Linked DNA regions of Homo sapiens: regions 2, 3, 4, 5 and 6 are each linked to region 1. Evidence: promoter capture Hi-C in human tissues and cell types (Jung and others, 2019). All regions are on one chromosome and are shown on one strand. The core of a region is centred on a gene start or on the middle of the fragment in contact, and the rest is flanking DNA. Distances in the headings are between cores, read along the strand shown. Region 1 holds the start of ANKS6 (ankyrin repeat and sterile alpha motif domain containing 6). Region 2 overlaps TEX10 (testis expressed 10). Region 3 overlaps INVS (inversin). Region 4 overlaps ERP44 (endoplasmic reticulum protein 44). Region 5 overlaps STX17 (syntaxin 17). Region 6 overlaps LOC101928438 (a long non-coding RNA gene).

The links. Contacts are between HindIII fragments. The study calls those that stand out against the background at their distance.
Region 2: a fragment that was not itself captured here is called in contact with the fragment with the promoter of ANKS6 in region 1 in 1 of the 25 tissues and cell types used here (spleen).
Region 3: a fragment that was not itself captured here is called in contact with the fragment with the promoter of ANKS6 in region 1 in 1 of the 25 tissues and cell types used here (mesenchymal stem cells).
Region 4: a contact is called between a fragment that was not itself captured here and the fragment with the promoter of ANKS6 in region 1, in 1 of the 25 tissues and cell types used here (dorsolateral prefrontal cortex).
Region 5: a contact is called between a fragment that was not itself captured here and the fragment with the promoter of ANKS6 in region 1, in 1 of the 25 tissues and cell types used here (spleen).
Region 6: a fragment that was not itself captured here is called in contact with the fragment with the promoter of ANKS6 in region 1 in 1 of the 25 tissues and cell types used here (dorsolateral prefrontal cortex).

What each region holds. Positions count from the first base shown.
Region 1 is chr9:98,794,805-98,799,284 of GRCh38, reverse strand. ANKS6 (ankyrin repeat and sterile alpha motif domain containing 6) reads left to right here and starts at 2,730. Exons shown (of 15, transcript NM_173551.5): 1 at 2,730-3,152. The coding sequence starts at 2,794. LOC124902229 (a long non-coding RNA gene) reads left to right here. Exons shown (of 2, transcript XR_007061689.1): 2 at 1-837. RefSeq lists enhancers at 2,466-2,966, 2,967-3,467 and a silencer at 2,588-3,207. The HindIII fragment of the contact is 18,100 bases long and covers 1-4,480 here.
Region 2 is chr9:100,308,043-100,312,522 of GRCh38, reverse strand. TEX10 (testis expressed 10) reads left to right here. Exons shown (of 15, transcript NM_017746.4): 12 at 2,144-2,224; 13 at 3,842-4,023. Among named protein-coding and RNA genes, the nearest start is that of TEX10, 43 kb to the left of the region's middle. The HindIII fragment of the contact is 6,335 bases long and covers 1-4,480 here.
Region 3 is chr9:100,148,256-100,152,735 of GRCh38, reverse strand. All of the region lies in intron 3 of INVS (inversin), which reads right to left. Among named protein-coding and RNA genes, the nearest start is that of INVS, 51 kb to the right of the region's middle. The HindIII fragment of the contact is 3,331 bases long and covers 244-3,574 here.
Region 4 is chr9:100,087,740-100,092,219 of GRCh38, reverse strand. All of the region lies in intron 1 of ERP44 (endoplasmic reticulum protein 44), which reads left to right. Among named protein-coding and RNA genes, the nearest start is that of ERP44, 9.0 kb to the left of the region's middle. The HindIII fragment of the contact is 3,296 bases long and covers 212-3,507 here.
Region 5 is chr9:99,952,208-99,956,687 of GRCh38, reverse strand. The region is part of intron 4 of STX17 (syntaxin 17); the gene reads right to left. Among named protein-coding and RNA genes, the nearest start is that of STX17, 48 kb to the right of the region's middle. The HindIII fragment of the contact is 4,483 bases long and covers 1-4,098 here.
Region 6 is chr9:99,805,072-99,809,551 of GRCh38, reverse strand. It overlaps LOC101928438 (a long non-coding RNA gene), which reads left to right. Exons shown (of 7, transcript NR_109802.1): 2 at 3,561-3,681. Among named protein-coding and RNA genes, the nearest start is that of NR4A3, 15 kb to the left of the region's middle. The HindIII fragment of the contact is 4,940 bases long and covers 1-4,480 here.

The DNA of each region.
Region 1 (4,480 bases), core at 1,481-3,980:
CCCGGTGGATGGCAGGCGTGCAATGAAGATCAAACGTGGGTCTCCAACTTTAGCATGCATCAGAATCACCCAGAGGGCTTGTTAAAATATAGGTTGCTGAACCCACACCCAGAATTTCTGATTCAGTAGATCTTGGGTAGGGCCAGAAAAATCTGCGTTTGTAACAGTGTTGCAGCTGGTGATGGTGCTACTGCTGTGTGGGACACACTTCAAGGACCGCTGATAAAGAGAGAGAAGGTATTTCATTTTCTTTGTGACCATTGTAAATGAGGTTGTGTTCTTAATTTTGTTCTCAGCTAGAATGTTATTGGCATATCAAACTGCTATTGCTTTTTATACATTGATTTTCTGTCCTGAAACTTTACTGAATTTGTTTATCATTTCCAGGAGCCTTTTGGCAAACTCTGTAGGGTTTTCTATGTATAGATTCATACTCTCCGCAAAGACAGAGTGTTCGACTTTTTCTTTTCCTATTTGAATGCCTTTTATTTCTTTCTCTTACCTGGTTGTCTGGCTAGGACTTCCAGTACTATGTTGAATAGGAGTGGTGAGAGTCTTCTTCCAGCTTTTGCCTGTTTAATATGATGTTGGCTATGGGTTTGTCATAGATGGCTGTTATTATTTTGAGGTATGTTCCTTCAATGCCTAATCTGTTTTGAAGATTTTTATTATAAAGGGATGTTGGATTTTATTGAAGGCCTTTTCTGCATCTATTGAGATGATTATATGGTTTTTGTTTTTGATTCTGTTTATATGGTGAATCACATGTATTGATTTGCGCATGTTGAGCCAACCTTGCATTCCAGAAATAAAGCCTACTTGATCATGGTGAATTGACTTTTTGATGTGCTGCTGGATTCTGTTTGTAGTATGTCATTGAGGATTTTTGCAGCTATGTTTTTCAGGAATATTGGCCTGAAGTTTTCTTTTTTTCGTTGTGTCTCTGCAAAGGGCATGAACAGACACTTCTCAAAAGAAGACATACAGGCAGCCAACAAACATATGAAACAAATGCGCAACATCATTAATCATCAGAGAAATGCAAATCAAAACCACAATGAGATATCATCTACACCAGTCAGAATGTCAATTATTAAAAAGTCAAAAAACAATAGGTGCTGCTAAGGCTGTGGAGAAAATACACTGTTGGTGGGAATGCAAACTAGTTCAGCCACCGTGGAAAGCAGTTTGGAGATTTCTCAAAGAACTTAAAATAGAACTATTTGACCCAGCAAACCTACTACCAGGTATATACCCAAAGGAAAATAATTCATTCTATCAAAAAGACACCTGTATATTCATTGCAGTGCCATTTACAATAGCAAGGGTATGGAATCAACCTAAGTGCCCATCAACAGTAGATTGGATAAAGAACATGTGGTACAGAGCCAGATGTGATGGCTCACACCTGTAATCCTGGCACTTTGGGAGGCCACAGCAGGTGAATCACTTGAGCTCAGGACTTTGAGACCAGCCGGACAACATGGTAAAACCCTTTCTCAACCAAAAATACAAAAAATTAGCCGGGTGTGGTGGCACTTGCCTGCAGTCCTAGCTACTCGGTAGGCTGAGGTGGGAGGATTGCTTGAGCCTGGGAGGCAGAGGTTGTGGTGAGTAGAGATTGCACCATTGCACTCCAGCCTGGATGACAGAGCAAGACCCTGTCAAAAGAGAGAGAGAGAGAGAGAGAGAGAGGGAGAAAGGGAGGGAGGGAGGGAGGAAGGAAGGGGGATAGGGAGGGAGGGAGGGAAGAGAGGGAAGGAATGAAAGAAATGTGGTGCATATACACGATAGAATATGATGGAATACTACGGAATACTATGCAGCCATAAGAATGAACGAAATCATGCCCTTTGCAGCAACATGGATAAAGCTGGAGGCCATTATCCTAAGCGACCTAAAAAGAACAGAAAACCAAATACTGCATGTTCTCACTTATAAGTGGGAGCTAAACATTGAGTACACATGGACACAAAGATGGGAACAACAAACGCTGGGGATCGCTAGGCCAGGGAGGGATGGAGGGGACTCTGGGCTGAAGAACCTCTTGGTGGGTATTATGCTTACTGCCTGGGTGACGGGATCGTTGGGACCACAAGCTTCAGCGTCGCGCAATTTACCCATGTAACAATTTACCCATGTAACAAACCTGTACCCTTTAATCTATAATAATAGTTGAAATAAAAGGTGGGGGAGAGAGAGAGAACAGGAGGCGCTTTTAGCCCCAGCAGCCTGGCCCAGATGAAGGAGCGACATTAAGGGCACCGCAGGACACTGTGAGGAAACAATCCGTTCGTTCCTTAATTCAGCCGCTTCCTTATTCTAGAAGGGCAGGTTCAGTGCCAGGGGCTGCGGTGGGGTCAGCGGAGCCCGCTAGTAAAGTCAAGGCCCACGCAGCTGCGGACTCAGACCCGGGCCCAGGGCCCTGACCACAGCGTGAAGAGGGGATGGCGTGGCCGCTCCCACCTCTGCCCTGACAGGAAGTTTCTGGAGCCCCGGGACAGGGCGGCGAGAGGGCGCCGAAGAGGCAAAAGGGAACACGCGGGTCTGCGGCGGGCGCTCCTCTGAGCGTCCCTGGACTCCCGAATACGGGCACTGGAGGTGCGCAGCCCCGGCCCTAGCGCGCTCCCGGCACACAGCAGGCGCGCGGCCCTAGCCCCGGCGCGCTCCCGGCACACAGTAGGCGCGCGGCGCGGGCGGGTGGCCGGAAGGGGGCGCCTGCGGGCGGTATCCGGGGGCGGAGCCGACGCGGCCGGCGGGGCGGACGGGAGCGGGCCGCGCGTGGCGGCGGCGATGGGCGAGGGCGGGCTGCCCCCGGCCTTCCAGCTGCTGCTGCGCGCGTGTGACCAGGGCGACACGGAGACGGCGCGGCGGCTGCTGGAGCCGGGGGCGGCGGAGCCAGCCGAGCGCGGCGCGGAGCCGGAGGCGGGCGCGGAGCCGGCGGGGGCCGAGGTGGCCGGGCCCGGGGCCGCAGCGGCGGGGGCAGTCGGGGCTCCGGTGCCCGTGGATTGCTCGGACGAGGCGGGCAACACCGCACTGCAGTTCGCCGCGGCCGGGGGCCACGAACCGCTGGTGCGCTTCCTGCTGCGCCGCGGTGCCTCGGTCAACAGCCGCAACCACTACGGCTGGAGCGCGCTCATGCAGGCGGCCAGGTGAGGCGGCGGGGCCCGGGGGCCCGGGACCAGAGTGGTGCCCGGCGCTGGCCCGAGACGCGGTCCCCGGCGGCCGGATGCCCCGGGAGGTGAAGAGTTAAGGACTCCTTAGAGTTGGAATGGTAAACTTTGAGTAGTCTTTTGTAAACTTTGAGCATAGACGTGGAAACACTTTTGAATTAACATAAAATCAGATTCTTAGAAATTTTGGCCTTTCAGAATAGAATCTGGAGACAGCGAATAGAATTGTAGAGACTTAGAACCTTAGAGATTTAATTCATTTCTTATTGCAGTAAGAGTTTCCTCAGAACCTGCCTTCCCTTCCTGGCTTGGCGTTGAGGGTGCTGCGAGACCCAGGCAGAGTCCCCACCCAGGGCATTGGTGGGCAGGCCAGGCAAAGGAACGAGCTTGACCGGAAAGGTTTGAGTAGCTGTGGGGCAGGTGACCCATTTTGGAGACGTGGGGGAAGGTTTCTGGTAGAAAAGATGTTTATATCCACGTGGAGACCTGCGGATACCTGAGAATTAGCCAGGACATTACAAGTGGGCTGTGGGAAGGCATGATGGGAGGCCCATGCAAAGGCTTGGGTGCACGAGCTGGTAGGACTGGTAGAATGAGGTATGCGTAGAATGTATGAGTAGAATGATGTACTAGTCCTCCCTGGAGAGAAGGCAGATGCCAGGGAGTTGGGGGAGTGTGGGAGCTGAGAAACGCTAGCTATCCTAGGGTGCTAGGGAGTCATGGAAGGTGCTAGGGAGTCATGGAAGGTTCTAGGCAGAATGAGTGACAGGATGAGAGTTACGTTTTGGAAAAATTACTTTCCTTGAAGTGTGAGAATAGATTAGATACTCTAGGGTAAGCTAGAGTCAAAAAGGCTGGTTAGGTAGAGTTTGCTGCAGTCTGAGTGAGAGGTGATGGTGGCCTAGACCAGAATGGAGACAGCGGAGGGAGGGCACCCAGATGAATTTGTGATATATTCAGGGAGTAGATCAGCAGGAGTTGACGACTGGCCCTTGGGGAGGGGTTAAGAGAGACAGCAAGGATGGCATCTAGAGATCTGGCTTCTGTGAAGCCTGCCATGATATCTCCCTGTTCTCTGGTCCCTCCGCAGCAGAAAGGCCTCTGTGGTAGCATCCATCACACCATGTTAATGCTGACTGGCTTCCTCAGTACCCAAACCTGGCCACACATCAGAATCACCAGGATGCTTGTCTAAGTGCAGATTCCTGAGTTCCTTTTCTGGAGATTGTGATTTAGAAGGCCCAGGGCAGTGAGGGGAGTAAGAGACAGGGACTCTGTGTGAGAAGAGGCTCCCCAGTGATTCTCTT
Region 2 (4,480 bases), core at 646-3,145, 1.5 Mb before region 1:
TTGGACATAAAGTAGTCATTCAACACCACAGAGTTTATTCTAGTTATATCCTGTTTCTTTTTTGTACCTGCTTTCTCTGATAGAAACCTGGCTCCAGTTATACTTAATATATTTACTTGATCAGCTTCTCTGTCTATAATTAGTCTTCCTTTGCTGCCACCCCTCTCATCTCACTCCATTTGGGCTCTGGTTCTTTCGGGCTGTCTACTCTGGGCCATCTCAGCACTCCCACCAAATCCAGTGCCAGAGTTTACCTAGTTTGGCTCCAGCCATTGGCTTTAGAACTGAATTGTTTAGGGCAGCAAGGGGAGGCAGAAGGGAAGTGATGAAGTGGTCATTATTGAATGTGCACTTTTCAAATGTGGTTTGGATTAATAAAAATATTCACCATGTTTGTTTTGGAGTAGGAAGATGGCCTTGGAAATGAGTTTTTTCTCATTGTTACTTAATGGTATAAAAGAAGTTACCAAGTAAAATATCTGGGTAATATCTACAAGATATTTTACAGAGAAATAATGTATAGATCTGTTGATTCCCCCCCCCACACACTCTCAAATCTGTAAATAACAAGTATAAAAAGTCTTGATTTTTCAGGGCTAGATGACAGCTCTCTTGAACTTAACTGACTGATCTCTTCCTAGAGTGATATTCATCCTTCTACCATTCTTGTTTTTTCATGTGATGTTTTTACATATTTCATTTTTGGTAGTATACTGTATCAGATTCTGGAGTTTGTGCTGTGACTGATATCTGTGAAGGACTTAGTACTGTTCTTGACTCTTCTTGTTTTTCTGAGAACTTAGGAAATTAAAAATACTAGGGGTTTTACTTCTAACTCTCTACTTTTTGTGCAGATTTCTTTTTTACCTTTAGAGAAGGCAGTGTTATGATTAAATTGAACAGGATATTTGTATTTTCTGGGTCATAAATATTTTTCTGTGATACATTTCTCTATCAGGTGGGCAAAAAAAAGCTTTTGTTAGCCCTTTGTTCATATCACTCAGATCTTTCTGTCATAGCACTCAATAGAAATACAGTATGCCCTCACTTAATATCCTCAGTAGGTTCTTTAGGAAACAGAAATGACATACACGGCAGGTCCTTGAATAACACTTATTTTTTGGAGACAGTGTCTCACTCTGTCATCCAGGCTACAGTGCAGTGTCACCATTATGGCTTACTGCAGTGCAGCCTCAACCTCCTGGGCTCAGGCGATCCTCCTGTCCCAACCTCCTGAGTAGCTGGTACCACAAGCATGTGCTACCACATCTGGCCAACTTTTTTTTTTTTTCTAGATGAGGTACCACTATGTTGCCCAGGCTGGTTTCAAACTCCTGGGCTTGAGCAGTCCTCCCACCTTGGCCTCCCAAAGTACTAGAATTACAGTCATGAGCCACCAGGCCTGGCTGAAAAACGTTTCTTAATAATGTTGATTGGGGGGAAAAAATGATTGCATTATACATTGTTTTGCTTAAAGTCATAGTTTCCGAGAACCTGCTGAAGTTGTTAAGTAGAGGACTTACTGTGTGGTCTCCATGTTGGTAGATTGTAAGCCACTTGAGGGGTATGAGAAAGAAGAGAAGGTTTCTCATTCTTTTATTCCTGTGCATGGCATCTAATAGGGGCTAGCTCAATATTCAACATATGATTAGTAGATGAATTATTTGGAAAATTAGGCCATATATAAGGTCTATTTGTTTGATCTTTGACATTTGCATCTTCAAAATAATTTGTTATGTGTTTCCTATTAATATGTAGAGCAAGTAGGTATTAAAAGAATCTATTGCTGGGCACAGTGGCTCACACCTGTGATCTTAGCACTTTGGGAGTCTTGAGGTAGGTGGGTTGCTTGAATCCAGGAGTTTAAGACAAGCCTGGGCAAAATGGTGGAACCCCATCTCTACTAAGAATACAAAAATTAGCCAGGCGTGGTGGTGTGCACCTGTAGTCCCAGCTACTGGGGAGGCTGAGGCCAGAGGATTGCTTGAGCCAGGTCACGGGGGTTGCGGTGAGCTGAGACTGCATCACTGCACTCCAGCCTGGGCGACAGAGTGAAACTCTGTCTCAAAAAAAAGAATCTGTTGAACTTGTTTCTGATCTAAAATGTTCTGATTTGGTTAGTGGTTTTCTCCTTTTCTGACAGGCAGTTTTTCACAGTTTATTGGTTATTCCTGCCCGAAGTCAGAACTTTGACATCTTGCAAAGTGCCATCAGTAAGCATTTGGTAAGTATCCTTAAACTTTTTCTCTTAAGAATGAACACAGGATGCATTGGTTAGAATAGAGTTTTCCACAGCCCCAGAAAGAGCATGTCTGGAATTCTAAGATTAATGATATCATAGTCTCTTGCAGCATGATGCATTGGCAAGAACTGAGGAATCTTGGTATTTTTCCTGGCTGTTATTAATTTACTTCTGAGTGACCTTGGGAAAAGTCTCTTCTTAGGACCTCACTTTTCTAAATCAGTGAAATAAGGGACCTGAAAATTAAACTTCACATCCTTTCCAACTTCTGTAATTCACGTGTGCTTGGCCTCATTGTATTGAGAATTCAACATCTAGACTGAAGTCTGGGTTCCACCTAGAAGGTTTGGGGTCCAAAGTAGGCACATCATCTAACCCGGCACAAGGTGTGGTCACTGGCAGCTGTAGACTCAACCCTGAGACTGACCTGTTATTTGATATTGGATGTCTCATTTCCATTGGTATTAAATTCACATTAGATATACCTCTGTAGTTGCTTTTAACTTTCTCCAGTGTTTATACTCTTATCTTTGGCTTTTTATTGTAATGTGTTATAGTACAAAGCAGGGCTCCCAAATTATATCTTTGAGAAACACACTTGTTTGGATAAAATATAGGCACATCCAGACTCCTTTTTCTCTTAAAATGTTACTTCCCTTGAGTTGGAAGAGAGTACTGCTTTGAATTCCTAGTACTTTCTCCCTGCTGTCAAACTTCCAGTCCTTATCCCTGTGCCATCAACAATGCCCACTTTTTTTTCCCTACCTCCACTCCAGAGAATTAGACTCTCCGTTGACTACATTCATTATTCTAGTAAAAGATCAATATGCCAGTCAGTCTTGGCCACTATTTTCACACAGCCTGTGGAGGAGGTTAAGACATCAGAGTTTGCAGACTTTGTAAAATCATTACCCAACAGTAGTCTCCAGGAGATTGAAACCATGTATATATACAGTTACAAGTTAGACTCTACCTTAATGACAATGCATACAGTACATTCTAGATGAATTAGCAAACTCTAATGACCCTTCCTGGGTTTCCTGGCAGTGAAACAGTCAAATGTTAACTATAGTAATATCTTTTACTGACTCCAGTAGAGGTATGTTTATTCATGTCTGAATGACTAAATCAAAGTGCAGAGGAAGGCTAATTTTGAAATGAACTATTTATACATTTAATTACCTGGCATATGAGTGGTGCCACATGCAAGTTTTCCAGCCTGAATAATTTAAAAATTTTTAAGTATGATTGTTGGTATTCAGATTTTCTTTGAGTGCATGAAATAATCCCTTTAAATAGTTATTTCTAACCAGCAGTAGACATTTTATAGAACATTTAGAAGATTCTGTCATGAAGGGGAGGCAGTGGATTGGGTTAATAGCACTTCTTGTGTTTGCATGTTTTCAAAGTCATATAATTTAGGGATTAAATTCTCAAAGGAAAACAGGACCTTAAGGTGTGGCAGGTGGCATATGTTAGGTATATATTGGTTTTCAGTAGAAATAATGTAAAGTTAATCGTGAATTAACAGGTTTTGGTTTTATGTGGAGGAGCGGGTCTGTTATGAAGAGGTGATTAATCTCGTTTTTCTCTGCTTAGGTTGGGTTGACTGTAATTCCTGACAGCACGGCTGGCTGTGTTTTTGGTGTTATCTGTAAGCTCCTGGATCATACTTGTGTAGTTAGTGAGACTCTACTGCCATTTCTGGCTTCTTGTTGCTACAGTCTTCTTTATTTTCTGCTCACTATAGAGAAAGGGGAAGCAGAACATCTAAGAAAGAGGTAATTATTTTTTATTCTTCAACCTTAATTTTCCTACTGTTCCTCCTCCCCCAACCAAATAATAAAATAGACAGTTAAAGATAATTAGGTTATACAGATACCTTAAATTCTGTTTCAGAGAGTTTGTGTCAGCCTAGCTAGCTTTTTCTTTGTTCCTTCATGAATCCCCTTTGTGTTGTAGTGAAAATTTTTAGTTTTTTGTTCTTTCCCCTTTAAGTTACAAATTTGAAAACTTAGATGGCATTATAAAATTTCTTGAGAGGTTTCTTTTATTAACATTGCTATAAGTCTAGCAAGAAAAATAAATCTACCGTTAGGAGGATGGGCTATTAGTACCAACCTTTGTATTTTGTTTTGAGCTTCATTAGAGCTAGCCAGAGTGGGAATTTTAAAATCTTGGATTTAAGGAAATTCTTCTAAGATGCTAGTGCTTTTAATTAGTACTTTTGCTCGTATA
Region 3 (4,480 bases), core at 660-3,159, 1.4 Mb before region 1:
TACTATTATAAAATCTGAAAGACCACATATTTAGACAAAGGTTGAATTTAAAATACTTTGAGATATAGTGTAATGCCTGATACATATTAAATACTAAAAATTTATCTGTTGAACAAATGAATGAATGAATAAATGAATGACATACCCATCAGAATTGGAATGGTGAGCAAGTGGATTCTGATAGATTATACAAAATTTTTCAAGAGGCTGAGTTAATACTGACGACATAATTTAGACAAGTATAATAAATGAATAAAACAACTTTTTAAATTAGTGAAGTTTATTTTAGTACTAGTGTTTCAATGATTAAGGTTTTCTATAAGCAGTATCTATTTTAATATCAAAGATTAGGATGAGAATCTTGGTGACTCATAAGTGGGAGAGATGACAACTATACTGAATGGCCGACTCAAGAATCAAGAGGACCTGGGTAGGTTACATGATGAACCCAATTCAATTCAGCAAGCATTGATTGAGTGTCGTTAAGTACTACTAGATATTGGAAATAAGATGACTAAGACACTCTTACATATTAAGATGTTCATCATCTGTGGAGAAATAAAACATGTAAACAAATAAATATATTTCAGTGTAAAAGGTGGTATAACAGTGGTTGAGTACACAAGGTACTGGAGGAACAAAGGATACAATGGTCAATTTTACCTAAGTATGTCTGGGAAAGTTCAAAATATGGATACAATAAGATGCTGCCTTTGGGTCCAACAACCACGGCCATATTAATATAGGACGTAGTTTAGGCAGTTGTAAGTATAAAGCAGATTTAGAGTTTTTATTTGAAAAATCTTAAATATGAATCAGCTGTATTTTGTTGCTAAAATGTCAACAGTTATAGTCATGTAACACTCTGAGCTCATCAGACTGGCATTGTATTCTGTTGTAGGTATCACATTTTCAAGGGAATTTAGACAAATATGTGCATATCTGGTGAAAATGATCAGGATGAGAAGGAAACTTGAAAGCATATTATATGAGGAATGGGTGAAGGAATAGATAGTACTAAAACTGGAGGAAAATGTCTTCACTTGGCCAGAATGATTCTTTTATAAATACATAAGTCAGACCATGTCACGTCTTTCCTCAAACCCTCCTCATCTCATTCAGAGTGAAAACATATTCTTGACAATGGCCTATAAGGCCCTACAGGATCAGGCCACCATTCTTTCTCTTTCTTCATCTCTTAGCGCTTTCCTTTTGCTCATTCATTATAAGGTATATATATATTTATTATTATTTTTTTAGACAGGGTCTCACTCTGTTGTCCAGGCTGGAATGCAGTGGTGTGATTATGGCTTACTGCAGCCTCAACCTCCTGGACTCAAGTGATACTCCCATCTCAGCCTCCTGAGTGGCTAGGACCACAGGCATGCACCACCATGCCTGGCGAATTTTTAAAAATTTTTTTGTAGAGATGGAGTCTCCCTATGTTGACCAGGCTGGTCTCAAACTCTTGGGCTCAAGTGACCCTCCCGCCTTGGTCTCCCAAAGTGCTGGGATTAAAGGCATGAAGACTAATTTATACTAATTTTCTTGTTATTTTGCAAAAATTCTAGGCATGCTCCCATCTGAAGGCCTTTGTTCTGACTGTTTCTTCTGCCTGGAATGAATGCTCTTCCCTCAGGTGTTCACATGGCTAAAGTTCTCACCTCCTTTAAGTCTTGCTTCACATGTCACCATCTCACTGAATACTATTTTGATTGCTTAATTTAAAATTACAACCTGTCTCACTGAATACTATTTTGATTGCTTAATTTAAAATTACAACCTGTCCTCCCCAGCCATCCCCTCTCTGGTTCTCTTAATCCCCCTCACTTTGGCATTTTAGTTATCATCTGTTGTCACATTTGTAAATGATCATTTGCACCTTGTGAAAGCTTAACAGCTAAAGGAGGTACAAAGAGACCTCCTTTATTGGTCCTATGATTGGTCATAGGAAAAATGTCGTGCCCAAGTGTTGACAATATTCACACTATAGGAATAATAATCATCCTGATTCCCTCTCATCCTTTTATGAGTCATAAACTATGGGTAGGAGAAAAAACAAGAAGAGGAAATTACATAAACAAATAATGGCCCTATGACATAAGGTAATTAGAAAATTAATGCTCAAATTTTCTTTAGAATTGATGTTATATACAAAATTAATTTTTAAACGGTTAAATGAAAGTAAATGGATTTGAAGTCCCTTTTTACCAGCCATAAAAATATTTGCTGGCCCTGTGCCCAGAGTTTAAAAGAAACCAGCATGAGTCTAATGAAAAACAAGCTGTAGGTTTCATCGAAATTCAATATATACTCTTTCTTTTCCTTTTAGTTTTTGATTGGTTTCCATGGGAATCTAGGCTTGTGAGATCTCTGATCTATTCATGGAAAGCAGATGCTTGTATTTTCATGACTTGGTAAAAATGGGAGTCAGAGAAGAGATGAAGATGATTAGAAAATGAAGATGATTGTAGGAAACATAATCATATTTAAAACAAAATTCCACAGCCATGTAGATTTTAAAACAAAATCTTCAAGGCTGCTCTACTATGTTTGAGAGGTATGATAAAGAAAAAACAGTGTATTTAAAGAAAGAAGCTTTGGGTTCAAATCCTGAATCTGACCTATGAGAAAGAAACCCTTCAGTACTTCTTTGGAGGTTTGACAGGAAAACTGGATCTGGGAATTACTCAAGGCCAGAAGAACAAGAAGTCTGAGAAAGTAAGCTTTAGGAAAGTATGTAAATTTTCTCCCAGTGCAGCAGTATCAGGAACACTAAGATGAGAATCAGCAAATCAGGATAATTTGTCACTCTGCAAGTGACAAGGTGACCTTGAAGAACTTTTTCAAATTATAGTTCAGTTTATGTATACAGAAAACACATAATATACAACTATTCCAACTGCTATGAAGCTACTATGAAGCTAAATGAAGTTTTTTTTCATACTAGAAACATGATAGAAAAATTCAAAGTGGCGATTTCAATCAAGATGTGTTGACATGTTATTCCTAGTGACTATACATTTTACCCATGTAAATAGAAGTACATAAACTATAATCAAAGTGTTAAAGGACAGACAGGTTTTTATTTCAACTCGTTTTGATTGGAATACTAATTTGAAAGTAACTAATAAGATCCTAAATATCTGAAAGCACCTTCTAAACTGGAAAATGAGAGGATAGGTTTAGAGATAGTTTCTACATATGGAAGAACACAAACAATGCTGGTTTAAAAACTCCAGAAGTTGGAATAAAATGAAGCAAGACTCTTTAGGACTTTCTCACTGCTTGGAGAAAGTAGCCTAGCTAGCATTGAAGTCAACTGCAAGAGCTGCCTAACATCACCATCTCAATCCAGAGGTTTCTTAAGATTCTAGGACATAAGAGTTTCAAATACTAAGATTTCCCTACATTTCTAAGTAATGTGGGCATCACAAATGTCTTTTGGTGCCTTCTTTTGGAAGCATACCAACAGTCAAAAACTCATAAACTATCACTACTTGCTTACTCTTCAGATACCCATTCGCTACATAGCTTGTGGTAGAATGGGCACTTATTAAATTGTTTTAAAATGGACTAATGAGTGGATACAGCCACAGAGATGCCTAGTAGTATCCACTGAAAATGTTTAACTAACTAAAGCAAAAGGTATGAGTAATGGCACAAAACCCATTTTTTTTTTTTTTGCTACAGTGAACATGTCTTACCTATATAACAAAAAGAGTTGAAGAAAAACAATGACAATATTTGATACATGGCAGTCTGTTACCTTCAGACAAGATTATGGGAGTTCTACTGTCACTTTAACAATATTAGTTCATTTACATAACACAGTCAAATCCCAGATCTAAAGTTGTTTTCATACATATGTTGCACCATGTAAGTCACTAAGATAAAAAATGACTTTTCTTGACATGGATGGAATGTACATGTGTTGGTTTTATAGAAAGACTGAAGTAGAGGTCGAGAATATATAAAGAATGGATGTGATTTACAATATATATTCTTCATTTAAAATGTTTTTGTAGCTTTAAATAACAGCTTTAATTAAAATCTTTTCATTTTAATGTGTTAAACATAAAATCTAATTCTTCTACTGCCTCTTCTCCTGTGCTAATATTTTACTTATGCTTCAGCTGTTTAAATGTTGCTGCACAGTTTAATTACTTTTCTTTGCACTAGAGTAATTTGTCTGGTGCTTGTTGCCTATGGCATTATATCCTTTGTAAACTTGAAGTTACCTTATGTCTATCTCTTTCCCTTGGAATTTTCTGCCATTTCCCAGTCTTGCTCAAACATGTCTATTTCTATTAACCTTTTTGCTGCCATCATTTTTAAAATAATTTACTTTTACCTTAAAATTTTTGCATAAAATGCATTCAGATGGTTCAAAAAATAATATAAAGAGGTACATAATAAAAGCTTTCTCCTACTTCTGCTCTAGTCTGCATCATTCCTTCCTCTACCCTCACTCTGGATA
Region 4 (4,480 bases), core at 610-3,109, 1.3 Mb before region 1:
CCAAGAAGATTAAAAACAGTTTGAGTTTTTGCAACATTTATTGATTTTTAGCCTAACTTTGATTCCATAGAGAGGAACTCATCTATGGCCCAGGCTGCAGAAACTTAATCTGTATCTTTGTTATTATTTTTCTTTTCTGCCTATCATTTGAAAGTCTATTTGCAATCTACTATGGAGGAGAAAAAGATCATTGAGATGCATATCATGCCTTCAAGAAATTAGTAATTCAGATGAGGAGAGAAGATATATATATAAATAATTAGACTACCAAAAGGAAAGTAATGGATGCCAAAGGTGTTTGTAGAAGTGGGTTATAGATCCTGCTACTCAGAAGTGTGATTGTGAGCCCAGGCATCAGCATCATATGAGACCTTTTAGATCACCTCACCTCAGACCTACTGAATCAGAACCTGCACTTTAAGAACTTATACCCAGATGATTCATATGCACATAAAAGTTCGAGAAATACTGCCATGGATGTTTGGAAGAAACAAATTATTTCTCAGTGGAGGAATCAGAGTAGTCTTGGAAAAAGATGAATTTGAATATTGCCTTGAATAGTTAAATGGATCAACTTATTTTCAGTCCTGAATGGAATGAAGAAAAAGGGCAGTGCCTCTCAATAACATAGTAAATCTTTTCTATCAATTGAATACTTGTTTTTTATTGTTTTATTTTTAAGAAATCTTGTTGTCTGGTTGGCTGACGTGGCCAAATGTCAGAATTGGCCCTAAAGAAGCTGGCAAACCCTTTGGCCAACTTCATTAAAACAGTTTGTTATCAACTTAGCAAAAATAAAAATCATGATCTTTAGTGGGTTCTAACTAGCCTTCAGATTAGTCCATTCAAGAGGGGAGAGGAATAAAATGCCACTTTGGAGAAGTCCCTTCTGTAATGCTGTGGGTCTTGGTTCTGTCCTTGCAAAGACTGAAATCGAATTCTAACTGCTTTGGGAATCCTTGGTGATATTGTGGTCACCACATTCATCTCTGCAATTCCTACAAACCTGAGATTTCATCATTATGTAGAACTTTGAGCATTATATTGGACTCTAATTTTAAGTCACCTGAATTTGTAGACACGAACATTGCTAATATAGTAGAGAAAAGCAACAAAAAAGCAGAAGAAACCCATCTCAGAAAAACATTGTAGTAGTATTTGAGCTAAAGAAAACCATAGGCTGAATAGTAGAATACCAGTACTTTTTCCATTTCTTCCTTATTATAGTCTAGTAGTGGGACCTTTGGTGAATGGATTTAAGAAATTTTAGAAAAAGGTTGTTAGGTCATGTTTGACATCCTTCTGGGAAAAATAAATTTTTAAAAATAAAAAAGAGGTCATTAGGAATATAGATTATGAATGCATCTACAAAATAAAATGTTAGAGTTAAAATTTCTTGTCCTATAGACAGTACGCACTCATATTTACAAGCCTGCTCTTTAGCTGTTTTGTTGTATATTTTTTTTTTTTTGAAACAGAGTCTCACTCCGTTGCCCAGGCTGGAATGCAATGGCGTGATCTCGGCTCACTGCAGCCTCCACCTCCTGGGTTCTAGTGATTCTCCTGCCTCAGCCTCCCAGGTAGCTGGGATTACAGGTGCCTGCCACCATGCCCGGCTAATTTTTGTGTTTTTAGTAGAGACGGGGTTTCACCATGTTGGCCAGACTGGTCTCAAACTCCTGACCTCAGGTGATCCACCTACCTCAGCCTCCCAAAGTGTTAGGATTACAGCCGTGAGCCACTGTGCCAGGCCTGTTTTGTTGTATTTGAAGTTTTAAATAATGTAGGGGGAAATGCCAGCTTTTAAAAATTACCAACACATCATTGAAGTCTATCTCTTTGCTTATAGAACAGCTGCAAGTGTAAGATAATGTATTGTCATTTGGCGTTACCTTGAGAGAAGAAACCTGCACATCCTCAGTTCCTTTGACTTATTACTGGAGTTCTGGCCCAAGTACAGTAAAATGTCAGCTAGCCAGTGATAAGCTTACACTTCTGTAATGATTTTACCTCTGAAAGGGCTGAGAATAAAGAATAGCTACTTTTTTTTTCTTTTTTTGCTAGTCAAAATAATTTCTTAGAAAACAGCTACTCAAATGGACTCATTCCTCAAACTTTCTAAATAGCAGGAATTTTTACTGTAGGAGTGGATATTATTTCCTCACAGGAAGTCTTGTAGTGTGCTAACAACAAAAGTATTACAATGTTGTAAAATACTTAGTTCTTTGTTAGTTTAACCTTTGAATGAAATGAACAGTTTCAGAGACCCTAATTTTGCTTTAGAGTTACAGTAGTCCCCTCTTATCCACAGGAGGTAATGTTCCAAGATGCTCAGTGTCTGCCTGAAATTGTGGATTATACCGAACCCTATATATACTATGTTTTTTCTTATACATACATACCTATGATAAAGTTTCCTTTATAAATTAGGCACAGTAAGAGATCAACAATAGTAACTAATAATAAAATATACTGTTCACAGTTTCTTTATAGAAGATTTATTCTTAATCTAGATCTTAGCCACCTCAGCGTATGATTTATTTTCTTTCCATTTAAAGTCAAGAGCTTTCATCTTTTCACTTAAGGAAGCGCTTTATGGCTTCTCTTTGGCATATCTTTTTTTTTTTTTTTTTTTTTTTGAGATGGAGTCTCACTCTGTCACCCAGGCTGGAGTGCGGTGGCGTGATATTGGTTCACTGCAACCTCTGCCTCCTGGGTTCAAGCGATTCTTCTGCCTCAGCCTCCTGAGTAGCTGGGATTACAGGCACTCGCCACTACACCCAGCTAATTTTTGTATTTTTAGTAGATTTGGGGTTTTGCCATGCTGGCTTGGCTGGTCTCGAACTCCTGACCTAAGGTGATCCGCCTGCCTTGGCCCTCCAAAGTGCTGGGATTAACAGGCATGAGCCACCACGCCTGGCCTCTCTTTGGCATATCTTAATTGCCAGCATCACTACTCTTGTGCTTTGGAGCCATTATTAAGTAAAGTATGGGTTTTTGAACACAAGTATTGTGATTCCAGTACCACTACAGTTGATAAGGGGCGGGTTATGTCTGCAGTGGGAATATGCTGGACAAAAGGATGATTCACATCCCACCTAATTTGAAGCAAGATGGTATGAGACTTCATCACACTACTTAGAACTGCATGCAATTTAAAACTTATAAAGTGTTTATTTCTGGAATTTTCCATTTAATGTTTTCAGATCATGGTTGGATAAAGGGGACTAATGTAAAGACTGTGCTACATTTTTAAAGCATGTATCTTATTTGTTTCAGAAATCATCCAGTTTGTTTATTTGTACCTGTACTCTGGTTTTAGGATATCTTCTGGAATATTCGAAGTATTTCTTTCCCTTAATGATCGCTTGAATATATATAGACTAAAGAGAAAACTTTTAGAAGAATATTTAGTTTAGGGATCAGGGATTTGGGCCCAAATCTTGGATCTGCTACTCACCACCCTTCTTTCTTCTTAACATCTCTATTTTCCTATTAACTTCTGAGGAATAATACTGGTATTATGTCTGACTCCTAAGTGGTGGTGTTATTCCATGCTACTATTATGATTTTATGAAACAAAAAGTGGTGAAAGGTATCCCCTTTTCTCATTCTTAGATCTCAGTTTGTTGTACAATGCCTTATTATAGAGTAAATGCTTAATAACAATTTAAGTACTGTGGAAAAAGAAAAGGTAGGGCTTACGTGAGAAGGATCAGGAGTGTATTAGGGGAGTTGTAGTTTGTAAGCATCACGGGACAGGTGAGCCTTGAAGCAAGTGAGGGAGTTAGTCATTTGGATTTCCTGGAAGAAGAGCCTTCCAGGCAGGGCCGTTAGTCAGTGCAAAGCCCCTAATGTGGGAGTGTCCCAGGCATATTCAAGAAATAGCAAGGAGAGCAGCGTGATTGTCATATAGTGAATAAGATACAGCATATTAGAAGATGAAGTCATTTAGTTAAAACATATTTTGCAAAAGTGTACTTGCCCTTACTATGTATGTTGTTTACTGATAATTGTTTTTCTTTTTCTATTCTGTGCTTTATTTTATTTTTTAAAAATTGCTGATCTGACTCAGTAGGGAAGAACTTCCTAACTGGGTGGCTGATATTATTGATCTCTTCAGCCTTGCCCCATTTGCCTCTGTTGGGAGTAGCCTTTGTTGTTTTGATTCTCTGTTACAGGAGGGGTCCCAACTTGCAGTGTGAAAAATACTGTTGTAGTAACTTAAAATGTTAAACCAAAAGATTTCCTGACGTGTTTTTTGATTCCCGAAAGTGATAACACTTTCATGGTACAGAAAAGCATAATGAAGAAAAAAATGCGTACACTAACCACTGATAACATTTTAGTGTATTTCCTTTCGGTTTTATTCTGTGCATATGCGTATGGATTTTTAATAGTAATGTGTATATTTTGAACAATATAAGATTGGGCTCTTTTTGTTTAATCCTGATGTAGAGTGGTAGACTTCTGGTTCATA
Region 5 (4,480 bases), core at 608-3,107, 1.2 Mb before region 1:
GAGCAAAGGCAGGCGATACAGAGTAAGTTTTACATTAAAACAGTATGGCAAATAGCCAATATTTTAAAAGCTCTAAATGATTTTTACAAATGCTTAAAATAGTTACTCTATGCTTTACATTATTGCCATAAAGACACTCTCATTTTCACATCAACCAAGAAAAATGAATTACTCTATGACCTTTCTTCTACTTAATATTTCCAGGTATTTACACTTCTTTCACATTATGATGAATAATGATAACTTCATTATTATTAACAGATCAAATATAAAGGAGAACTTTATAACCATGACCACTCAAAATATTTTTTAAAGCCATAATTTATGTACTATTAAAGAGGATTCAAATGAAGTTTGCGAGGGTATGCAATGAAATGAGGACAGATTATTATATATTAATACTTAATCTAAAAAAATAATGTGTGGGAAATGTTTGACATTTTAAACAAACATAAAAGATTTCCCTCAGTAAAGAATAAAAATGTTTAAGTCATTTACGTCTCACTTGAAACCAAACTACGTATGCATCTTAGTTCAAACAGAGTCTTAGAACAAAGAGGTCTGTGCTCTTCCATAAAAAACCCTGATGTAAACTTAAAACTCTAAACCTCGCTAATCAATTCAAGTCATGACTATCAATTAAAGCAAATCTTTTCATTTCTACAACTTCCATAATTCATTTATTCCAGCTTGCATTTAAAATCACTACCTCAGTGACGATCCTTTGAACTTTTACGAACTGCTATGGACATGATAAGGCAAAACGCTGAGATAGATTATAGTTTCAGGAAAGAAAGCTGAAGAACTTTAGATCTGCCTACAGAAGTAAAAAATTGTAACTGTTTCATGTAACATAATCATCTCAGGTACTCCCACCCACACACAAACCAGAAGCATAAAGGGCAAGTAGAACATAGGACCTATCACTCACCACTGTTTTTTAAACCCCAGGATTGGTTTTAAAACCTTATTGTTGGTTTAGTTGAAGTGAGAAATAAACGAAATAACCTAAGACTTTTCCCTTTTATATATATCCAAGTACTCTCTCCCTCTTTCTCCATACTTTATGAACAGCAATGATTTTACCAAGAATTATAGTATATAAAAAATTTCCACTAACCTTTACCACATAAGAAAAAGTTTTATTATAAATCTAAATTAATTCAAAAGCATTGCTGAAATGTTTTCCAGTTCTGATAGTTTAAAAATAGTGAAATTAATTTACTGATCATCTACATAAGCCTATCAAAATAAAATTACTTCTAAGCATGGCTTAACTTAGCTGCAAATGAAGACTTAAAAAAAATTAAAACCAATAGAAAATACATCTTCTGAATCATATAATACAAACCATCTACATGTTTCATAAAACTGTTCAGTACATGTATATACCTGTGATAAAAATCTAAATTTCATCAAATTCAATACGCTGGTCTGAAGTTCCCAGCAGTTTTAAGATTATATTCTTTTCTTTTGTGAATATTTGTTTAAAATGTAATAAGATTCTGTTCCTTTTGTGTTACTGAAGTGTGTGTCCTGAGAGTAAAGAAAGACAAAAATGGAGAGAAGCACTGATTCACTCTGTATGACTTGAATCACCTTTCTAAATACAAATCAGATTTGGAGGCTCCTCACTTCACTTGGTGGAAAGCAATATGCTAAAAATGAAACCAGACACACAAGTGAGACAGAAGGGAGTTTCTCAGATCAAGAAGATTGGCAGAGAAGATTTGCTTTAGGAACTCTCGGAATCTGGACAAAAGAAACAGCAAAATCATCACAGCTTCTCCCTAAACTTAATAAGCTTCTTTCATTCTCCAGAGAATATAAAACATCCTATTCTACTTGTTATTTCTATCTGTAAATGAAAAACTATTTTTGTATTTTTGATCTTACTCATGGAAATGTGGCAACATTGCTTCTGAATCTCTGCTGATGTTTCCAACCAATTTATTTAGAATCAGATTGAATTTGTAAAGTAAAAAGTATTTTAAGGCACTTAACTTCTATGCAATAAAACAGATTTTCCATATAGGCTGTTGCTACTATAATAAGTATCTAAAGCAAAAATAAGGAAAAACTGGAGAGCATAGAATAAAAACATGTAGAATGACAAAAACAGTCTACAGCTAGAAGACCAAATATGGAGCAAACTCAATTCCTACCCCACTATTAAAGTCTTATGTAAATTAGTTACTTGCTTTCCTTTCATTATTCATTTCCTTTTCCATTCTCTTATTTATTAATAATATTTCTGGACTTGAGGCAATATAGCAGAAACTCTCACACTTGGCGAAATACTCAGGCACTTGGTGAGACAGTAGTTTTTTAATTGCTTTATGTTGGCAGTGGATTAATAGTGAAAGCACACTATGACAAGCAGACTATTGAATTTGAAATTCTATACACTATTTTAGGTATAACCTAGGTATTGATTTTATTAATAGAATGACTGTCTCAACCAAATCAATACTAGTTATAGAGATTTAATTTTTTAGTTTTCTCCTAGTAATTAGGTCTTTAATAGCCCATTTGGTGAATTGAGAAGTTTGAGAATCAAGAGAATTGGGAAGTGAATTTCACCTGCTATTTCTTCTCCCTCATTCTCTGGCTCTGCTCCAATTTTTTCATTTCCTTTATGCACATACTTCTTCAAAATCTGCCGAAGTTTTTTTTTATATACCAATCAGCTTCCTATGGAGAAAGTTAATTGCCAGCAAACTGGGTAAACTGCCTTTTTCTATTAATAATAATCACCCAATTTCTCTGATGACATATAAGCCCAAAGTTGTTGATCCCGAACAGTTCTACTGGCAGTAAAACAAATAATGCAATAATAAAATGCAAATTAAAGCAAGTATTAGGATATTAAAATACTGTGAGAAAACTCTCAGATGAACTCCAAATTTTTGTTTGATAGGGGAATTGCTAGAGATAGGCAATTCAAAGCTAAGTAGCAAAAAGATTGATGTTAGTTACTCTTTCCAGAAAATCCAGGTTATCTTCACAGTTATTATTACCATCACAACTATCACAATGTCTGGGTACATAAGATGAGCCCTTAATCACATGCAACTATAAAACTCAGTTACTCCACATGTGCACATAAAGCATCAGTTTGCACTAAGTGATAAAAACGGCCTTCAACCTCACCAATATGGCAGCAATAACTATAGATGAACAGAATAATGAAACGGTAATTACAAACTATCAAAAAGCATTCTTCCCAAATACTTTTCAACCAAGGATTGAGTGCTAGCATCTCCTTCTCTCAAAAACATTTACAGTACTGGTTATCCACAGAGTGAGGTGGTTACAGTGCATGTGAAATTACAAAATTGTCTCTAAAAAGATATTTATGTATTTATGTTTATAAAACATTTAGGTCCATTATGTGCCAAGCATTGTGCTAGGTACTAAGGCTACAACAAAAGCAAGATTACCCAGAAACTCTGACTAGTGGCCTAAATGTTTCTTCCAAAAGCTTTTTTTAATCTCTCTGTAAATTACTGGATCATTAGCACTGAAAATATAAAATTAAAAATAATCTGGCTTTGGAGATAGTGATGCAGGAGTGCCCTGAGTAAATAAAAAAAGAAAAAATGGGCAGATGTAACATTTCTTTTTTTTTATTTTTATTCTTATTTTTATTTTATTGTTATTATACTTTAAGTTCTAGGGTACATGTGCACAATGTGCAGGTTAGTTACATATGTATACATGTGCCATGCTGGTGTGCTGCACCCATTAACTCATCATTTAGCTTAGGTATATCTCCTAATGCTATCCCTCCCCCCTCCCCCTACCCCACAACAGTCCCAAGTGTGATGTTCCCCTTCCTGTGTCCATGTGTTCTCATTGTTCAATTCCCACCTATGAGTGAGAACATGCAGTGTTTGGTTTTTTGTCCTTGCGATAGTTTACTGAGAATGATGATTTCCAATTTCATCCATGTCCCTACAAAGGACATGAACTCATCATTTTTTATGGCTGCATAGTATTCCATGGTGTATATGTGCCACATTTTCCTAATCCAGTCGATCATTGTTGGACATTTGGGTTGGTTCCAAGTCTTTGCTATTGTGAATACTGCCACAATAAACATACGTGTGCATGTGTCTTTATAGCAGCATGATTTATAGTCCTTTGGGTATATACCCAGTAATGGGATGGCTGGGTCAAATGATATTTCTAGTTCTAGATCCTTGAGGAATCGCCACACTGACTTCCACAATGGTTGAACTAGTTTACAGTCCCACCAACAGTGTAAAAGTGTTCTTATTTCTCCACATCCTCTCCAGCACCTGTTGTTTCCTGACTTTTTAATGATCGCCATTCTAACTGGTGTGAGATGGTATCTCACTGTGGTTTTGATTTGCATTTCTCTGATGGCCAGTGATGGTGAGCATTTTTTCATGTGTTTTTTGGCTGCATAAATGTCTTCTTTTGAGAAGTGTCTGTTCATGCTCTTCGCCCACTT
Region 6 (4,480 bases), core at 1,183-3,682, 1.0 Mb before region 1:
AGAGCAGTGGCAAGACCATGGCTCATTGCATCCTTGACCTCCCGGCTCAAGCGATCCTACTGGCTTCAGGTAGCTGGGACTACAGGTATATGCCACCACACCGGGCTAATTTTTTTTAATTGTAGAGACAGGGGTTTCCCTATGTTGTCCAGGCTGGTCTCAAACTCCTGGGCTCAAGGGATCCTCCTACCTTGGCCTCCCAAAGTGCTGGGGTTATAGGTGTGAGCCACCATGCCTGGCCTGACTGGGAAAGTTTTAATAAAATGTTTTCTATCTGATAAATAAGTTCATGTTGAAAAATATGGGATGTGAGCAAAGAGTAATTATCTGGATTTCAGGCAAAGCACATGCCTTGTAGTTAAGATCATTGAAGCAGCATAATCACATTATAGATTTGTTATGGAGTGAAAACAATGTCATAATAATACTCATCAGTATAAATTGCCCATGGTATGGTCATGGTGATTGACTCCCCAGTATTCATCCCACCGCAGGTGATTTGTCTAAGCAGTCATGGTTAATCCCATTTCCCTTGCCGGTGAAGAGTTAGGAATGGCCTGTAACCTATTCTGGCCAATGAGAGATGAAGGAAAAGTCTACAGACGGCTTGAGTGCTTCTGGGAAAGGATTTATTGATTCTAAACAGAGAGAAAAGAAAGAGATGATGCCTCATCTCCCTGTGATTTTATGTTTGAGTATAGTGGCTAGAACTGCTCTATCCATCTTGGGACCATGAGGGAAACTAGCTTTGGGGGGTGCAGCTGATCTAGATGATGACAGAACAGATGGAAGAAACCTGAGCCCTTGATGACCTTCCTGAATTGCTGATTGTATTGTACTTGGTCTGCCTTACCTCTGAACTTCCAGTTCTGTGAGATAATACAGTTCCTCATTGTGTAAGTAGGCATGATCTGCGAATTTGTCATTTGCAGCCAGAAACATCCTGATGTGATACCTACTTTGTCCCAAGCAGATTCACGTCAGGTGGATTTGATATTATTTGGATAGGTTTCTTTTTGCTGGGGCTCTTCCCTCCCCATGTCTTCTGCCTTCATAAAGTGGATGCAGATTCTAACTGGCCAGGTCTTGTCTCTATCTTTTCTAAGGGGCTCTGCCTTAGACCAGGGATCTTCATAGGAAGCAGCAAGGAATCAAACAGCACTCATTGTCTCTTCCAGAGTCTTTTGGGTTGTTTGAATATCTGGTGGTGTGACTGCTACCATTTGTTGTTCATTCCTTCTTTTTCTGATTCTGATTCTGATTTCTTGCTTAGATCTTGGTCCTCACTTTTGTATATTTTGTGTCTCATGCCTGACCTCAAGATTGTTTGATAGATTTATTTTCTTCTCTTCTGCAACTCTTTCCCCTTATCTCCTTCATCCACTCCTTCCTCATCTTGTGACTTGATTTTGTGGCCAGTGGAGACTATTCTAAGCAGATGGGTATATGTTATTTGCCAGGAGCAATAGTGAGTTACATGAGTAATCATACATCTATTTGCTCTAGACTGGTAGAGTAAAAAGTAAGAGTAGTTCACCCCTTGGTCTTCTCATCTAGTACCTTTCACTCATGGCATAGAATAATAGAACTGGAAATGGTCTAGGAGTCAGAGCATTTGAGTCTTCATTATGGCCTAGCCATTTGCTACCTGAAATTTTGGGCAAGTCTCTTAAGTATATTTTTTCCTTAAAGTTTGTTGCTATTGTCTGTCTAATTTTTAAAATAGTATTATAGTGATTCAAATGAAATAATGAACCTGGCAAATGAGAAGGTTTTTTTAAAAAAACACTCAAACTTGGTTGGATTTTCTGTTTATTTTCAGTGAACTAATGTCAAAGTCTCTAAATTGTGTAGTTTGTTAGTCTCTTTGTAGAAAGGCAACGGAGTATGATGTGGGGCATAATAGTACAAGTAATTAGGGATTGAAATTTATATTTTAGTGTTAACTAGGCCTGAAAAAAAGAAAAAAGGCCACACGATATTAAAAATAAAGGTCAGGATGTTGATCTTGAGGCTTATTTCTAGTTCAACCAGAAATTCTGGTCAGCCGAATTAGGGGGAAAGAGAAACCAATAAAAGAAACACCCCCCTCTAGTGGCGAGGGGCCAGATTCTCCACTTGGTTGCTAAGATGGATGAGGGGAATGGATAACTTCTTAGGATATTTTTTGTTTCTTAAGAATTCTGAGGTTGTAGAGTTAGACTACTTAAGGGAGATCTTAGTTCAGGCTTTATTTGTCAGGAAACTTAACACATTTCTCAGGATAACTAGTATCTTGTCAGTCTCATGTGAAATTGGTTAAAAAATGTAGAGGCTACTGTTGTTGGAAGAGGTTCACAGTTTACTTTTATATAGGCCACATGGAGATCATGAAAATTAGGAGACATTTGTTGCTAAACTTCTTATTGGGTCTGAGATGATATAGTAGGTACCTTTATAATCCCATTCACAGGGGGATAAATATTTAAAGTTGTGGGTTATGCCATAGAGTAGTATTAATCTATGTTTGTACAAAATAGTGGCTGTGGATTTCCTAAGTTTTGATTTGAAATTTTTACTGGTGATCCTGAGAACCAAATGTTTAACTTGCATCTTGGGAATGATTTAATTGCTACCTATGGAAAGGCAGTGAAGTTAAGTATATTAAAATAACATCACCCATACTTTAGTGACTCAGGAGGAGCACCTAATGCTTTTTTTTTTTTTTTTTTTTTTTTTTTTTGAGGCAAGGCCTCACTCTATTGCCCAGGTTGGAGTGCCATGGTGCAGTTTCGGTTCACTGCAGCCTTGACCTCCTGGGCTCAAGCAGTCCTCCCACTTCAGCCTCCTGAGTAGCTGGGACTACAGGTGTGCACCACCACACCAGGCTAATTTTATTCATTTTTTGTAGAGATGAGGTCTCCCTGTGTTGCCCAGGCTGGTCGTGAACTGGGCTCAAGGGATTCTCCTACCTTGGCCTCTCAAAGTGTTGGGATTACAGGCATTAGCCACTGCACCTGGTGCACCTAATGCATTCTTGAAGGATGTTTCATCTTAAGGATATAAATCGTTAGTGATAATGATTGTAAGTGATTGTTACATTTGCAAATCTCAAAGTCCATTGAAGTTTTTACTGTTTCAACTTCTGTTTGGGAAAGATTATTTTACATTTGTTTAAAGATTTCTGAAGAGGCAAAATTTCAGAGAATAATATTTTTATAATACTCTGTTAGATCTAAGTTAAGACTGGAATGCCATTCAAATTCAATGGTTAAAAGGCATAAGAAAATAAATTCTTATATCAGACTGCATTATCAATATGCCATTTCCTTATTTTTAATGTCAAACTTCCTTGCCCTGAAGGAAAAAAATTGAAGCTTGCAGTTGACCAGCCATTCCATAACTTGGAGTATGTTTGGTGGCCTTTCTTATGAAATAGTAATGGAAAAATTCCATAGAAAATATAAACTCGTGTGTGGATGAAGTGAGATTATAGAGTTACGAAATTAATTTTTGTGCATAACTTGTGGAGCTGATAGCCTTAATTTATTATTGTACTTCATAAATATACTTTATTTCAGGAAAGAAGAACTAGGTCTGGCAGTAGATCAGAATCTACCTGTTGGGGAAAACCAGAAATAGGAAGAAGAGTTATTAATGGTTCATTCTTGGCTGAGAAGAATTCAGTATGGAATAATTAAGGTTAGTTTAGAGAAATAATATATGATTATGTTAAGGAGTTCACAAATATTATTGAAAGTAAACTGGTTAAAACTGATTTGTTAATGTAAATGGGGCCAATAAACCAATTAGATGATCTCGCTACTAAATTGATGTGATAATAGAGGATATCTGGAGGGAAGTAAAATAGATGATAAGGTTAGTGGTAATGAGACTTCATTAAATCCTAGTACTAAAGAGATACTGTGTACATTAGTGACAGCTTAATTCTATAAATAAAAGTTGATGTTAAGAATTGATATGGGGCCTGTGGTGACTCACACTTGTAATCCCAGAGACTTGGGAGTCTGAGGTGGGAGGATTGCTTGAGGCCAAGAGTTCCAGACCAGCCTGGGCAACATAGTGAGACCCCCCTCTCATTCACTCATAAATAAATACATAAATAGCAAGCCCAATGTGGTGGTGAGTGCCTGTATTCCCAGCTACTTAGAAGGCTGAGCCAGGAGGATCGCTGGAGCCCAGGAGTTTGAGGCTGCAGTGAGATATGATTGCCCCACTGTACTCTAGCCTGGGGGACAGAGCAAGACCCCATCTCTAAAATAATAATAACTGATACAATGTTGGCACTGCTGAAATTAGGCAGGTATTATTTGTGTAAAGAGTTGTAACAAAAGGACTTGATTAAAGAGCCCAGGCTCCAAACTCATTTGAAATTCCAGGTAAAGTATAAGAATAATAATTCATATTTGTATGGGACTTTATAATACTCTGAATGTTTTCATATACAAGATCTCCTTTGATTCTTATAAGAACTCAGGGT